Regions from separate parts of the Homo sapiens genome. Here region 1 is linked to region 2. The links are contacts of gene promoters, found by promoter capture Hi-C in blood cells and fetal thymus (Javierre and others, 2016). All regions are on one chromosome and are shown on one strand. Each heading gives the region's core, a stretch centred on a gene start or on the middle of the fragment in contact. The rest is flanking DNA. Distances are from core to core; before and after follow the strand shown. Region 1 holds the start of EFCAB12 (EF-hand calcium binding domain 12). Region 2 holds the start of OSBPL11 (oxysterol binding protein like 11).

Evidence for each region. The method cuts DNA at HindIII sites, captures the fragments that hold promoters and counts their contacts. A CHiCAGO score of 5 or more calls a contact.
Region 1: the fragment with the promoter of EFCAB12 here is called in contact with the fragment with the promoter of OSBPL11 in region 2 in 1 of 17 cell types (neutrophils); the score reaches 5.2 in neutrophils.

The regions. Positions count from the first base shown.
Region 1 is chr3:129,423,554-129,430,836 of GRCh38, reverse strand. It overlaps EFCAB12 (EF-hand calcium binding domain 12), which reads left to right and starts at 2,201. Exons shown (of 9, transcript NM_207307.3): 1 at 2,201-2,397. The coding sequence starts at 2,349. RefSeq lists a silencer at 2,015-2,064 and an enhancer at 6,247-6,296. The HindIII fragment of the contact is 3,479 bases long and covers 1-2,870 here.
Region 2 is chr3:125,593,989-125,600,432 of GRCh38, reverse strand. OSBPL11 (oxysterol binding protein like 11) reads left to right here and starts at 4,936. Exons shown (of 13, transcript NM_022776.5): 1 at 4,936-5,796. The coding sequence starts at 5,633. RefSeq lists a silencer at 4,819-5,228 and enhancers at 5,329-5,388, 6,349-6,408. The HindIII fragment of the contact is 11,640 bases long and covers 4,222-6,444 here.

The sequences.
Region 1 (7,283 bases), core at 952-3,451, 3.8 Mb before region 2:
CTCCATTTCAGCTCACTCACTCTTTTACCTTGGTCCCTTTGTGAAAACTCATTTCTCATCTTCCATTTGGAGTTTATACCATTTGGCCAGGCACAGTGGCTTACACCTGTAATCCTAGCACTTTGGGAGGCTGAGGCAGGAGGATTGCTTGAGCCCAGGAGTTCAAAACCAGACTGGGCAACATAATGAGACCCCGTCTCTACAAAAAATTTTAAAAATTAATTGGGCATGGTGACATACACTTGTGGTCCCAGCTACTCAGAAGGCTGAGGTGGGAGAATCCCTTGAGCCCAGGAGATTGAGGCTGCAGTGAGCTATGATCACACCACTGCACTTCAGCCTGGATGACACAGCAAGACCCTGTCTTAAAAAAAATAAGTCTTAATGCCATTTTTATTACAAGTATTGTTACAGTTCAAATACCAAAGCATTTACTATTAGAAAGAAACCAAGGGAAAAAACTAGTTACTATGTCTTAATTACCAACTACCATTTTAAGGTATAATTTGAAAATTAAATTGATTGAATAAATGAAAAATAAATCAGTTGTTCAGGAAACTGCCTTTGTTGTAGGGCAGTGTGAACCGAATCAGGCTGCAGTGTGATGCAGAGGTAGTTGGTTGTTTCCACTTTAGTGAGTGTCAGTTTTTAGAAGGATAGATTTTGACCAGAGAACAGGAAAACTGGCCACACCTCCCTCTCCCCAAGGCAAACCCACTTTATAGTTTACCATCACATTTTCATTTAACAAACATCCAAGTAGCATTCACAAAGTGTAAAGCCCTGTGGTGGGGAGGGGCACAAAGATAAACAAGTTCTGTACAGACCCTCACAGAGAGAAAGAAGGGCACCTAATAATGGAAGGGAACAAAAGCGGTAAGGAGTAGGGACAAGACACCCAAAGAGGGTGGAGAGGGGCCTCTGAAACCTTGGGCCCAGCTGGGCCTGGAGGGTGGGGCGAGCTCACCAAGCTCAGGGCATCAGGTGTGGCTTTGTGGTAGGGCTGGTGGTCACATACCTTCCCCCAGCATCTCCATGGGGAGTGTGGGCCCGTGTGAATGCAGGAGGCGAGCTCTGCACCAGGGGAGCTCAGGACACAGCCAGGTTGCTCAGGCTCTAGGCCTGGCTTTTCCTGTTTCTTGCAGGTGAGGTTGCCTGACCTCTGTACCTGTTAACTTGTCTTTTAAAAATGGGATAGTGGTGTCTACCTCACACAATGATGGTAATTATGAAGTTCAGACATGTAGTGCTAAAATGGTACCTGGCTTGCAAGAGTGCTGTGTGAATGTGGCCCATGGCAACAATCTGTTTGCAAGCGTCACAAAGATAGCTTGTCTCAGCAAAGGAATAAGGGCTTAGGTGTTTCTCTTTAACTTTTTAAAAATTGAGCTAAAAGCCACCATTTAACCATTTTAAAGTGTACAGTTCAGTGGTTTAGTACATTTACAGTGTGCAGCCATCATCACTAATTCCAGAAGTTTCCATTTCTTTTTTCCACTCCAAAAAGAATCTCTCCACCTGTTAGCAGTCACTTCAATTACTCACCCCATCCCCTAGCAACCATTCATCTACTTTCCGTGTCTGTGGGTTCGTCTATGCTGAACATTTCACATAAATGGAATCATACAGCACGTGGCCTTTTGTGTCTAGCTTCTTGCTTAGCATACTGTTTTGAAGGTTTATCCATATTGTAGCATGTACTTCATTCCTTCTTATGGCCATCCTATGGATATACCTCATTTTGCTTATCAGTTGATGCACATTTCAAGGGTTTATTATTATTCTCTGGTCCTCAGGTTCTGTAACTCCAAACCATGGCACCCTGCCATAAGCGGGGCAGAACATACCCAACACCTCTATCTGGCCACAGCTCACTTTGGTTCTTCCTAACCCTCTGGAGGAGGCAGGGCCTATTTTTCCTATGAGAAAACTGAGGCCTAGAGATATGGAGACCTGCGGAAGATCCCACATTTCACGGGAAAACCGGAGACTTTCTACACTGGATTCAGGGACTACTGGGCCGAACAAAGAAATCCCGCCTTTCACCAAGCCCAGAACTGGGCGGGGCGTGGATTTGCTCGCTGCCCCTCCCAGAATTGGACGAAAACGAGGTGGGGCCAGCAGGCGCTCGGCAGGGCGGGCTCGCTCTTAACACGTGACAGCGCTCAGCCAATTGGCGCGGGGCGTCCGTAGCCACGGCAACAGGTTGCTTCTGCAGTCTGAGCTGAGCGCCTTTCGCACGACTTGGAGTTACGGTTTATCTGATACCCCGGTACCCCTACGCAAGCAAGCCCACATCGACACACATTCACACACGCCCTTCAGCACCCCCTCCCAGCACCACGACCATGGACGACGACTATGAAGCGTACCACAGTCTGTTCTTGTCGCTGCTCGGTAAGCCCCGGGAAGAAGCGTCTGCAGGGAGCGCTCAGCGCCCTAAGGACGCGTGAAAGTGGGGTGAGGGCAAAAACTCAGCCACAGATATTGTGCCGACCCCCTCTGGGTGAAGGGTTGCCATGGAGTCGGGGGCAGGTCATGTACATTTCTGAGATTTCTATCTGAGCCTAGTTGGAGGAACCAGAGGCCCGACCCATGTGACGGGAGCCCTCCAGCTCGCCCTGTTTCTCTGCAGGACATTAATGTATTCAGTACTGGAGGAGAGGCATGGAGAAGACGTCAGTCTTCAAGGTTTTGGCAGTAATGTGCTGGGGACCAAGTTCTTGGCAAAGCAATGCAGCTTCACGGGTAAAGGACAGAGATAAATGGATAATTACAGAATAAGAAGGGGTAAATGCCGGGCCCAGGGATGACACCCAGGAGTAAAAGGTGTGCTGAGGGTATGGGATGGGGAGGAACAGTTCCAAGCTTTTGGAAAAGATCTTTACACTGGAGCTTAAAGGATAAAAAGGAGTTCTCCAAGCCAAAAGGGGAAGGAAAAGCATTTCGGGCAAGGAAACAGCATGACCCAAGAGGTCTGGTGTCTCTGGAAATGAGGTGAGAGAGGTCAGAAGGGACAAGATCATAAAAGATACTGCAAGCCAGGAGATGGAGAGGCCACTGGGAGTGGCAGGACTGGATTGGGAGCAGTCAGAAAAGACCTGAGACTGAGTTGGCAGACTCAGAATGTTGGTGTGGGGAGATGAGAGCTGGGGGCTATAAAGCTTGAAGACTGAAGGTCTTCTCCATGCCGCTTCTCCAGCACTGAACACATTAATGCCCAGTGGAGAAACAGGGAGAGCTGGAGAGGCTGGCCACCTTTCCCAGGCACACAGGTCAGGGCTCTGGTCAAATGCCCAAGCTAAAGATGCTGGGAGGTGAGGGAGAAGGCCCAGGCTAGAGGGAACTACGGGACTTGGGGGCTGGTTGGTCAGGAAACACAGAAGAGGCAAATAAAGATGGTTCTCAAGTTGGCAGCTGGGGGACCTGGTAGATGGAGATGTCTTCCACAGAGATAAGAGAACGTACTCAGAGGACCCAGTTAGTGGGGGAAGGGGCACAAAGACAAATCCAGTCTTGGTTGGTTGAGTTTAAGATCCTTGTCAGTAGCTGGGCACAGTATCTCACGCCTGTAATCCCAGCACTATGGGAAGCTGAGGCAGGAGGATTGCTTGAGCCCAGGAGTTTGAGAATAGCCTGGGCAACATAGTGAGATCCCATCTCTACAAAATTGTTTTTTAAAGTTAGCCAGGCCTGGTGGGGTGGCTCACGCCTGTAATCCCAGCACTTTAGGAGGCTGAGGTGGGTGGATCACGAGGTCAGGAGATCAAGACCATCCTGGCTAACACAATGAAACCCCGTCTCTACTAAAAATACAAAAAATTAGCCGGGCATGGTGGCAGGCGCCTGTAGTCACAGCTACTCAGGAGGCTGAGGCAGGAGAATGGCATGAACCAGGGAGGTGGAGCTTGCAGTGAGCCAAGATCATGCCATTGCACTCCAGCCTGGGTGACAGAGCAAGACACCATCTCAAAAAAAAAAAAAAAAAAAAGGTTAGCTAGGCTTAATGGCATGCACCTGTAGTCCCAGCTACTCAGGAGGCTGAGCTGGGAGGATCATTTGAGCCCAGGAGTTCAAGGCTGCAGTGAGCTATGATTGAGCCACTGTACTCCAGCTTGGGGAACAGAGCAAGACCCTGTCTCAATTAAAAATAAATAATAAAAAAAGATCCCCGGCCGGGCGCCGTGGCTCACGCCTGTAATCCTAGCACTTTGGGAGGCTGAGGTGGGCGGATCACCAGGTCAGGAGATCGAGACCATCCTGGCTAACACAGTGAAACCCCATCTCTACTAAAAATACAAAAAATTAGCCGGTCGTGGTGGCAGACACCTGTAGTCCCAGGTACTCGGGAGGCTGAGGCAGGAGAATGGCGTGAACCCGGGAGGCAGAGCTTGCAGAGAGCCGAGATCGTGCCACTGCACTTTAGCCTGGGAAACAGAGCAAGAGTCCGTCTCAAAAAAAAAAAAAAAAAAAAAAACAAAAAAAAACCCTGTAAGCCATCCAAGTGGAGATGTTTTAGGAACAACTGGAGGTATAAACTTGGAGCTAATTCCAAGTCAAAAATATTGGTATGGATGTCCCCAGCATACAGAAGGTCATAGAAACATGAGAATGGAAGGGATTATTTAAAAAGAGAAGAGACCCTGGGTATAAGCCTGGAAGCAACAACCTTTAAGGAGTAATCAGGAAAAGAGGGGCCCAAAAACAATAGCCGGAGAGGTAGAATTGGACATAGCAAGAGATTGAATCAAGCCAAGAGCAGGGAGAATTTCAAGAAAGAGTAGAATTGTTTCCAGACACCTATAGGCTGTCTGAGAAAAGAGAGAACAAGTGTGTTTTCTGGGACATCCATGGGGAGGACTAGAACCAAAGGGTAGAAAGTCCAGGGAAACAAATTCTGGGTCAATATAAGGAAATATTTTCTAGCAGTCAGAGTTTAGTGTCCACCATGTTAAGTAGAAAGTTCCACGTCACAGGAGATGTATAAACAGAGGCAAAGTCTGCCAGTGGCATTGAGGAGAGTGTCCCTGACCTGGGCAGGTGATTGAACTAGCTGGCGTCTGAGAGCTTTCCTTGCCAATTTCCTAGGAACATTGTCACATAGTCTCTACCCATAACTACACAATGACAGCCTCTTTTATTATAAGAGCCCATTTCCCTTTCTGTCAATGGACACAGGACTCCAAAGAGCACTAGAATGAAGCTCCCTGAGGAGGTTTGGTGGGCAGGCACCCTTGGAAAGTGGGGTCAGGGGCTGGTGCAGGTTTAGAACTGTGAGGAGAATGACTCGGCCAGGGGAAGCCCTGGGGAATGCAGTGCTCTTCAGAGGGCACAGCAAATGCAAAAACTGAAAACCCAGAGCCAGGAAGGAACAAGGCACCTCAGACAACAGAAAGGAGGACAGCAGCTGGGACCACATGAGTGAGGGGGCGGGGGCTGGGAGGTGACAAGGGAAGAGTGGGGAGCAGGGCCAGTGAAGGCAGCTTTGTAGGCCACAGAAGGAGGCGGGTATTTATTCAAAGAGCACTAAGAATCCATTGAATGGTTTCAAATGGGGAAGGGACAGACTGTGAATTTACATTTGTAAGGCTCTCCTGGCTGAGGGCAGAACATGGATTGGGGGTCTAGGGAGGACCCAAATGGGAGCAGCAAGACCTGTGGGGAGCAGGTTTTGTGTTCCCGTGGCCTGCAGGGTAAAGTTTCAATCTCTTAGCCTGGCATTTGAGATGACGCCAACCTTATTTCCCACTAACCTCCTCCTTTACACACAGTGGGCTTCCAACATGTGGAACTGTCTGGTGACCCTAAAATCCCCAAATCCCACTCCTGACCTTTCCCCATCCCTGCCCCTCCACCCCATGAAGCCAGACCATTCTTGAAGGTCCACATCAAAGACACCTCTTCCTTGATGCCCTCCCAGGTCCCACAGTCAGCATTTCTCCCCCAACTGAGAACATCTTGTTACCCTCTGGGTGCCCCACCTTGTTCCATTGGGTGGACTGAGAACAGGTGAACCACGGTAGGTGCCCAGCCTAGTTTAATCTGCACCTGGTTCAGCACCAAGCCCTGGGGGATTCTCAATAAATACTGATTTGATGAATGACTACATTCTCAGTCATCCCCTGCTGGGAATGAACTTTCTTGTGGTCAAAGTAATGATACATGTGTTGTTTAGAAGTGTTCGCTTCCATCCCTATTGATGTGTAATATCTGTTCTAGCATTGCTATAAAGAACTACCTGAGACTAGGTAATTTATAAAGAGATGAGGTTTAATTGACTCACAGTTCCTCAGGCTGTACAGGAAACATGGCTGGGGAGGCCTCAGGAAACTTACAATCATGGCAGAAGGCAAAGACAGGCACATCTTACATAACCCAAGAAGGAGGAAGTGAGAGCAGGGGGAGGTGCTATGCTTTTGAACAACCAGATCTTGTGAGCACTCGCTCTCATGAGAACAGCAAGGGGGACGTCCTCTCCCATGATCCAATCACCTCCCACTAGACCCCTCCTCCAACAATGGGGATTATAATTTAACATGAGATTTGGGCAAGGACACAGATGCAAACCATACCATGATGTTTACTTTTCTTATTTGCTGACTCTGAAAGGAACACATGGGCCTTGTAAAGAGACTTAACAAATGTACTGAATGTCCACTTTGGGCCAGGCTGGGCACCGAGGACACAGGGGAACTAAGACACAGTCCTGGTCACTGGGAAACTCACAGGCTGTTGGGAAAGAAAGATGCAGAAAGTATCTTCATTTCAGAAAAATATGGTAAATGCTTATGATGGGACTAAGTGTGGGGGCTATGGGACCCAGAGGGCCCATGAGAAGGGGAGTGGGAGGGCTTCAAGGGGCCGGGATGCCTGAGCTGAGTCTCAAAGGGTGAGTCAGGGATCAAGAAGTGAAGCAGGGAGGGAGAAGAGCATGTCACAGGGAGGAAACAGCATGGCTTGTGTGTGTTGGTGGGGCAGATCTGTTTGGATACAAACGTAAGGGAAGGCAGAAGGAGCCAGAGAAATCGGAGAGGCTGGTAGGGGTGAGAGGACCAGGTGGGGCCAGGTTAAGGAGCTTGAACTTTACTCTAGAGGCAGTTAGGAGCCATGGACAGGTTTTAAGCAAGGGAGTTTGGGTTTTAGGAGGAAAATGACAGTGACAGTATTTCCAATAAGATTGTTATATCCCTTCTGATTTTTTTAAATTTTTTTGAAAAAGGGTCTCTGTTGCCCAGGCTGGATTACAATGCGGGTAATCTCAGCTCACTGTAGCCTTGACCTCC
Region 2 (6,444 bases), core at 3,687-6,186:
TCTAAGTGCCTTAAATGACATGAGTCGTTTCATTTAATGCTGACAACCCCTCAAAGAGAGAGACTGGCTTGGCTGCCATAGCAAAATACCATAGACTAGGTGGCTTAAACAACAGCAATTTATTTTTTCACAGTTCTGGCGGCTGATAGTCCAAGGTCAAGATACCAGCATGGTCAGTTTCTGATGGCGGCTCTTTTCCTAGGTTGCAGGTAGCTGTCTTCTCCAAGTGCCCTCACATGGCAGGGGTGGTGAGGGCTGGGGCATGGTACATGCTAGCTTTCTGGTGTCTCTTCTTACAAGGGCACTAATCCAATCATTAGGACCTCATCAAAACGTAAGTGTCTCCCAAAGGCCCTATCTCCAAATACCATTGCATAGAAGTTAGGCCTTCATTGTAGAAATTTGGGGAGTAACACAGTTACTCCTATTTTATAGGTGATGAAACAGGCACAAAGAGGTTAGGTAACTTGCCTAAGGTCACAGGGAGTGGAATCTGCGTGTCAGTCTGATAGAAGAGACCATGATCTTGACCACTATGCATACGCAGCTTCTCTCCATGGGCAGGGCACCCTCATCTCTTACCCAGCTAGACTGGTAGGGAAGGCACAGAGATGAAGTACACATCCTTCTTTGATGGCTTTCAAAAAAGTACATTTCTTTACCTTCCTTATTCAAACAATATGTCCTCCTCTCTCTTTGGATGCTGAATGGAACAGTCAAACTCAGATCCTATTGTAAAACATTTTGGTAAAAAGTTTTGGCTTTAAAACAAAGCAAAACAAAACATCTATCCTACCAACTCCCATGGCCATGACTCCACAAGCATTATAACCTTCTGATAATAATTTAGTTTATCTTGCTGAGTTTCTTACACCAAATGTGCTGACACTCAAACCTGAGTACTCTAGACTGTATTTTTTTTTTTTTTTTTGAGACAGAGTCTTGTTCTGTCATCCAGACTGAAATACACTGGTGTGATCTCAGTTCACTGCAGCCTCAACCTCCCGGGCTCAAGCAGTCCTCCCACCTCAGCCTCCCAAGTAGCTGGGACTGCAGGCATGTGCCACCACACTCAGCTCATTTTTGTTTTTTTACTAGAGACGAGTTTTGCCAGTTGCCCAGTGTGGTCTCAAACTCCTGAGCTCAAATGATCCGCCCTCCTTGGCCTCTCCCGGGTCCAAGCGATTCTCCTGCCTCAGCCTCCCGAGTAGCTGGGATTACAGGCATGAGCCACCACACCTGGATAATTTTGTATTTTTAGTAGAGACAGGGTTTCACCATGTTGGTCAGGCTGGTCTTGAACTCGCGACCTCAGGTGACCCGCCCGCCTCAGCCTCCCAAAGTGCTGGGATTACAGAAGTGAGCCACCACACCTGGCCAGTAATTTCTAATCTTATAGCTAATTTGTTAGTCCTGCAAAGGCAGACTGGTCCCCAGGCTAAAAGAGGGGTCTTTTCGGGAAAGGGCGATTATCAATTTTGTTTCAGAGTAAAACCATGAACTGAATTCCTTCCTAAAGTTAGTTTGGCCTGTGTCCAGGAATGAACAAGGACAGCTTAAAGGCTAGAAGCAAGATGGAGTCAGGTCTGATTTCTTTCACTGTCATAATTTCCTTAGTTATAATTTTGCAAAGGTAGTTTCACTATTGCAAATCCAGTCCATTTGCAGTACTGTAGCCCCATCCCAGACACAGCTTGGATCCATTTACTTCTCTCTATCCCCACTGCCACCACTCTAGTCCAAGCCGCTATGATCTCTGCCCTCATTCCCTATAATATCCTCCTACCTAGTCGCCCCGCTTCCTCTTTTTCTCCCACTAAAATTAATTCTCCATGCAGCTAGAGAATTTGTTTTTTAAAAAATAGCATTATCACAATATAATTCATCCACCATAAATTCACCCATTTAAAGTATACAATCGAGTTTTCATATACTTACAAGATTGTACAACCATCACTATTATCGAATTTTAGAACATTTTTATTACCCCCACCCCCAGAAAACCCCATACTCATTAGCAGTCATTTCCCATTCCTCCTTTCTCCTATCCCTAGCAACCACTCATCTACTTTCTATCTCGATGGATTTGCCTATTCTGGACATTTCACATAAATGGAAGCATACAGTATGTGACATTTTTGCGTCTTGCATCTTTCACTTAGAATCATGTTTTTTATATTTTTATCCCACAAGCTTTTTTCCACTTTTATATTTATGTATTTATTTAAAGAGACAGGTCTTCTATGTTGCCCAGGCTACCCTCAAACTCCTGGGCATAAGTGATTCCCCCCATCTCAGCTTCCCAAGTAGCTGGGACTACAGGTGTGCATGACCACACCTGGCTTTCCATTATTTGTCTTTGTTTTTTTTTTTTTTTTGAGATGGAGTCTCACTCTGTCACCCAGGCTGGAGTGGTACGATCTCAGCTTACTGCAACCTCCGCCTCCCAGGTTCAAGCAATTCTCCCGCCTCAGCCTCCAGAGTAGCTGGGATTACAGGTGTGCGCCACCATGCCCAGCTAATTTTTGTATTTTTAATAGAGATGGGGTTTCGCCCTGTTGGCCAGGCTGGTCTCGAACTCCTGACCTCAGGTGATCCACCAGCCTCAGCTGCCCAAAGTGCTGGGATTACAGGCGTGAACCACCGTGCCTGGCCTACATACCACAAATTCTTTACCCATTCATCTGTTCATGGACACAGGCTGGTTCCATATTTATGCTATTGTGATAGTCCTTCAGTAAACATGTGAGAGCAGGTATCCTTTTGATATGTTGATTTCTTTCCCTTTAGATAGATACTCAGTAGTGGGATTGCTGGGTTGTACGGTAGGTTTATTTATTTACTTTTTTTTTTTTGAGACAGAGTCTTGCTCTGTTGCCTGGGCTGGACTGCAGTGGCATAATCTCGGCTCACTGCAAGCTCCGCCTCCCAGGTTCATGCCATTCTCCTGCCTCAGCCTCCCGAGTAACTGGGACCACAGGCGCCCGCCACCACACCCGGCTAATTTTTTGTATTTTTAGTAGAGATGGGGTTTCACCGTGTTAGCCAGGATGGTCTCGATCTCCTAACCTCGTGATCTGCCCACCTCAGCCTCCCCAAGTGCTGGGATTACAGGAGTGAGCCACCATGCCCGGCCGGTTTTTGTTTTTTTCTTTCTTTCGTTGAGACTGAGTCTTGCTCTTGTTGTCCAGGCTGGAGTGCAGTGGCGCAATCTCAGCTTTTAGTAGGATGAGCCGCAGACAAAACCTCTCAGACACCGAGTTGTAGAAGGAAGGGCTTTATCCAGCTGGGAGCATCAGCAAGCTACTGCCTCAAAATCTGAGCTCCCCAAGTGCACAATTTCTGTCCCTTTTAAGGGCTCACGACACTAAAGATTTCACATGAAAGGGTCATGATTGATTTGAGCAAACAAGCGGTACATGACAGGGGCTGCATGTACCGGTGGTCAGAGAGAAACAGAACAGGGCAGGGAGTTTCACAATGTTCTGCTGCACAATGTCTGGAATCCATGAATAACATCGGTTTCTAAGTTATGAGTTGATTTTTAACTACTGAGTTTAGGCCAGGCAGGCCCAGGCCTGGTTTCCGGCCTGGCGCTGGGCTGCCTGTCTTTGGTTTTACTTCCTTGCTGTTTCTTTTTTTCTTAAAACAGGTACTGAGTATAAAACAATATGAGAGGGTCTCTCTCCTTCCTCAGGCTCACTGCAACGTCCGCCTCCCAGGCTCAAGTGATTCTTCTGTCTCAGCCTCTTAAGTAGCTGGGATTACGGGCACGCACCACCATGCCCGGTTAATTTTTGTATTTTTAGTTGAGAATGGGTTTCACCATGTTGGCCAGGCTGGTCTCGAACTCCTGACCTCAAGTGATCCGCCCACCTCGGCCTCCCAAAGTGCTGGGATTACAGGCGTGAGCCACTGTGCCCAGCCTCAAGTCATGTTATTATAAACTAAAATTAGCAATTAGGAGAGACTTTAGAAATCTACCCATGCACTCTTGTTTTACAAATCCAAAACCAAGGCCTAAACAAGGTGAAAGATTTGTCTGGGGTCTGGAAGAGTACCTAGCTCTGTTCTGAGATCTCTAATTTCCATGACAGCTTCTTTTTAATTTATAATAATGATTGGCTTTACTCCAATGTCATGCTTGCCCCCCCCCCACCCCAAGTAACTAAAACGTACAGATGTTTGCTTCGTTCTTGTACTTTCTTATTTTTGTAAGCTTTCTTCCTAAAATGCCTGGAACGGCCCCTCAAATGGAAGGCTAGGACGTGGTTAGGAAGGCGGGCACTCGGCCGGGCGCGGTGGCTCACGCCTGTAATCCCAGCACTTTGGGAGGCCGAGGCGGGCGGATCACGAGGTCAGGAGATCGAGACCATCCCGGCTAAAACGGTGAAACCCCGTCTCTACTAAAAATACAAAAAACTAGCCGGGCGTAGTGGCGGGTGCCTGTAGTCCCAGCTACTTGGGAGGCTGAGGCAGGAGAATGGCGTGAATCCGGGAGGCGGAGCTTGCAGTGAGCCGAGATCGCGCCACTGCACTCCAGCCTGGGCGACAGAGCGAGACTCCGTCTCAAAAAAAAAAAAAAAAAAAAGGAAGGCGGGCACTCACACACCAGAAGGGAACTCTCTAGTGCTGCTGGCTCCTTTGTTTCTTCCTCCTTCACTGTCCGGGTTCCTCGTTCCGTTGCGGCGCCCTCCCTCGCCCTCCCTCGCCCATCAGCCAGTCGCCCAGCTACCAGCTCCCAGAGCCTCCGCCTCCTTCAGGGACCCGCCGCCCTGACCCAAGATGGCGCCAGACGCTTCGGCTGTGAGGGAAGTGAGCTCACGCTACTCCGGAAGGGAAGGCGGGAAGGGAGCAGGGGGCGGGGGGTGGCTGACCCGCTGTGGGGCTGTGGGGCTGTGGGGCTGTGGGTGGGGCGGCGGCCGCGGCCCTGGCATTCGCGCTTGGGTCTGGAGATAGCGCGAGAGACTCACCGGCTCCTGGGAACCCAGTCGAGGGCCCGGGCCAGGGGCATAAGAGGAAGTTGTCCCGAGTGGCTCGCCTCTGGCCCTGGGAGAGGCGGCCCCGGGAGCCGGCGTCCCGCCCCCGGCGGCCTCATTCCCCGACCCTCCTCCCCGGCTGCGCGCGCCGGCCCTGGCTGTATCTCGGGGGCTGCGGCGGGAACTGCCGAGCGGGCTTGACTGGACGCACTGCCTGAGGACCTGCGGAGGAGACGAGGGAGCGCGGCGGGTCAGCCCCGAGGTTAGGCCGCGGGTCCCCTGTCCGTGGCGCTCCGTCCTTTTCCCAGCCGTCTTGGCTACAGAATCTGCGACCTCCCCACACTCCTTCTCTTTTGAGTATGTCACTTAAGTCTTCTCGCCGGATGCTTTTTCCTCCTTGCTTTTGCCGGAAAGGAGAGAGATACATGTGAAGGATATCTGTCCTCGTTGCTTCCCCTGCCCTCTCAAAAGTTTAACTTCTGTGGGAATGTGTATCTTCCTTTTCTGGACCATTTGACAGTCCCGCCCCAGCCGCCGTGTGATTTAGCAACCGGTATCATATTCAGATCAAATCTTAAAAAAAAAAAGTCACCTACAGAACTACAGAATTGTTCTCTCCCGCTCAAGAAGGGCAAGTGGACTTTGGCGTTAAGATGCAGGGGGGTGAACCAGTGTCCACAATGAAAGTCTCGGAGAGCGAAGGAAAGCTGGAGGGCCAGGCCACAGCGGTGACCCCGAACAAGAACAGCAGCTGTGGAGGTGGAATCAGTAGCAGCAGCAGCAGCCGCGGTGGCAGTGCAAAAGGCTGGCAGTACAGGTATGCTCCTTTCTCCAAAATTATTTCCCGAGGTGGAGGTAGGGGTGAATATGCCCTGGAGGCTGCATCCCGCAATTGTTGAAAGATAAAAGTTTTTTCACTGGCTTCCAGAAGCTACTGATACATCTCGTTTGGATCTGGGACCTCGCCTAAAAGATTTAATCCATTCATTTGTTCATTCAACAGGTATTTATGGAAGGCCTTTTGAGGAACACAGAAATGTATCCCTGAACTTCCTCTACAGTCAGAGAGTTAATGCTTCCTCAGATTTAATTCTGTACTCACTTCTGCTTTTGCCTATGTTGCAATTTATTTACAAGCCAGCTTTCTCTGATAGACTGCGAGGGCAGGAACTGTTTAACTCAGCTTTCTCGAGAGGGTAGCAAATACTGGTGCTCAAAACTTACTTGTCCAGAGCTTCTCCAGAATCAGAAAAGATTCTTGCCCTGAAGGTATTTGTGACTTGGAAAGGGGAATGTACATAAGTAATTGGAATGCAAGGACAAAGGTAGAGATCCTAATGCCTCTGATAAACTAAACCTGAGCCTGGAGATGTTCAGTTTGCGTTGCTCAGGCCACTTCAATGCTCTCTGTGTTGATGAGAAAGTCTATATTTGTTAATTTTCACTAATATGAATGAACAACTTA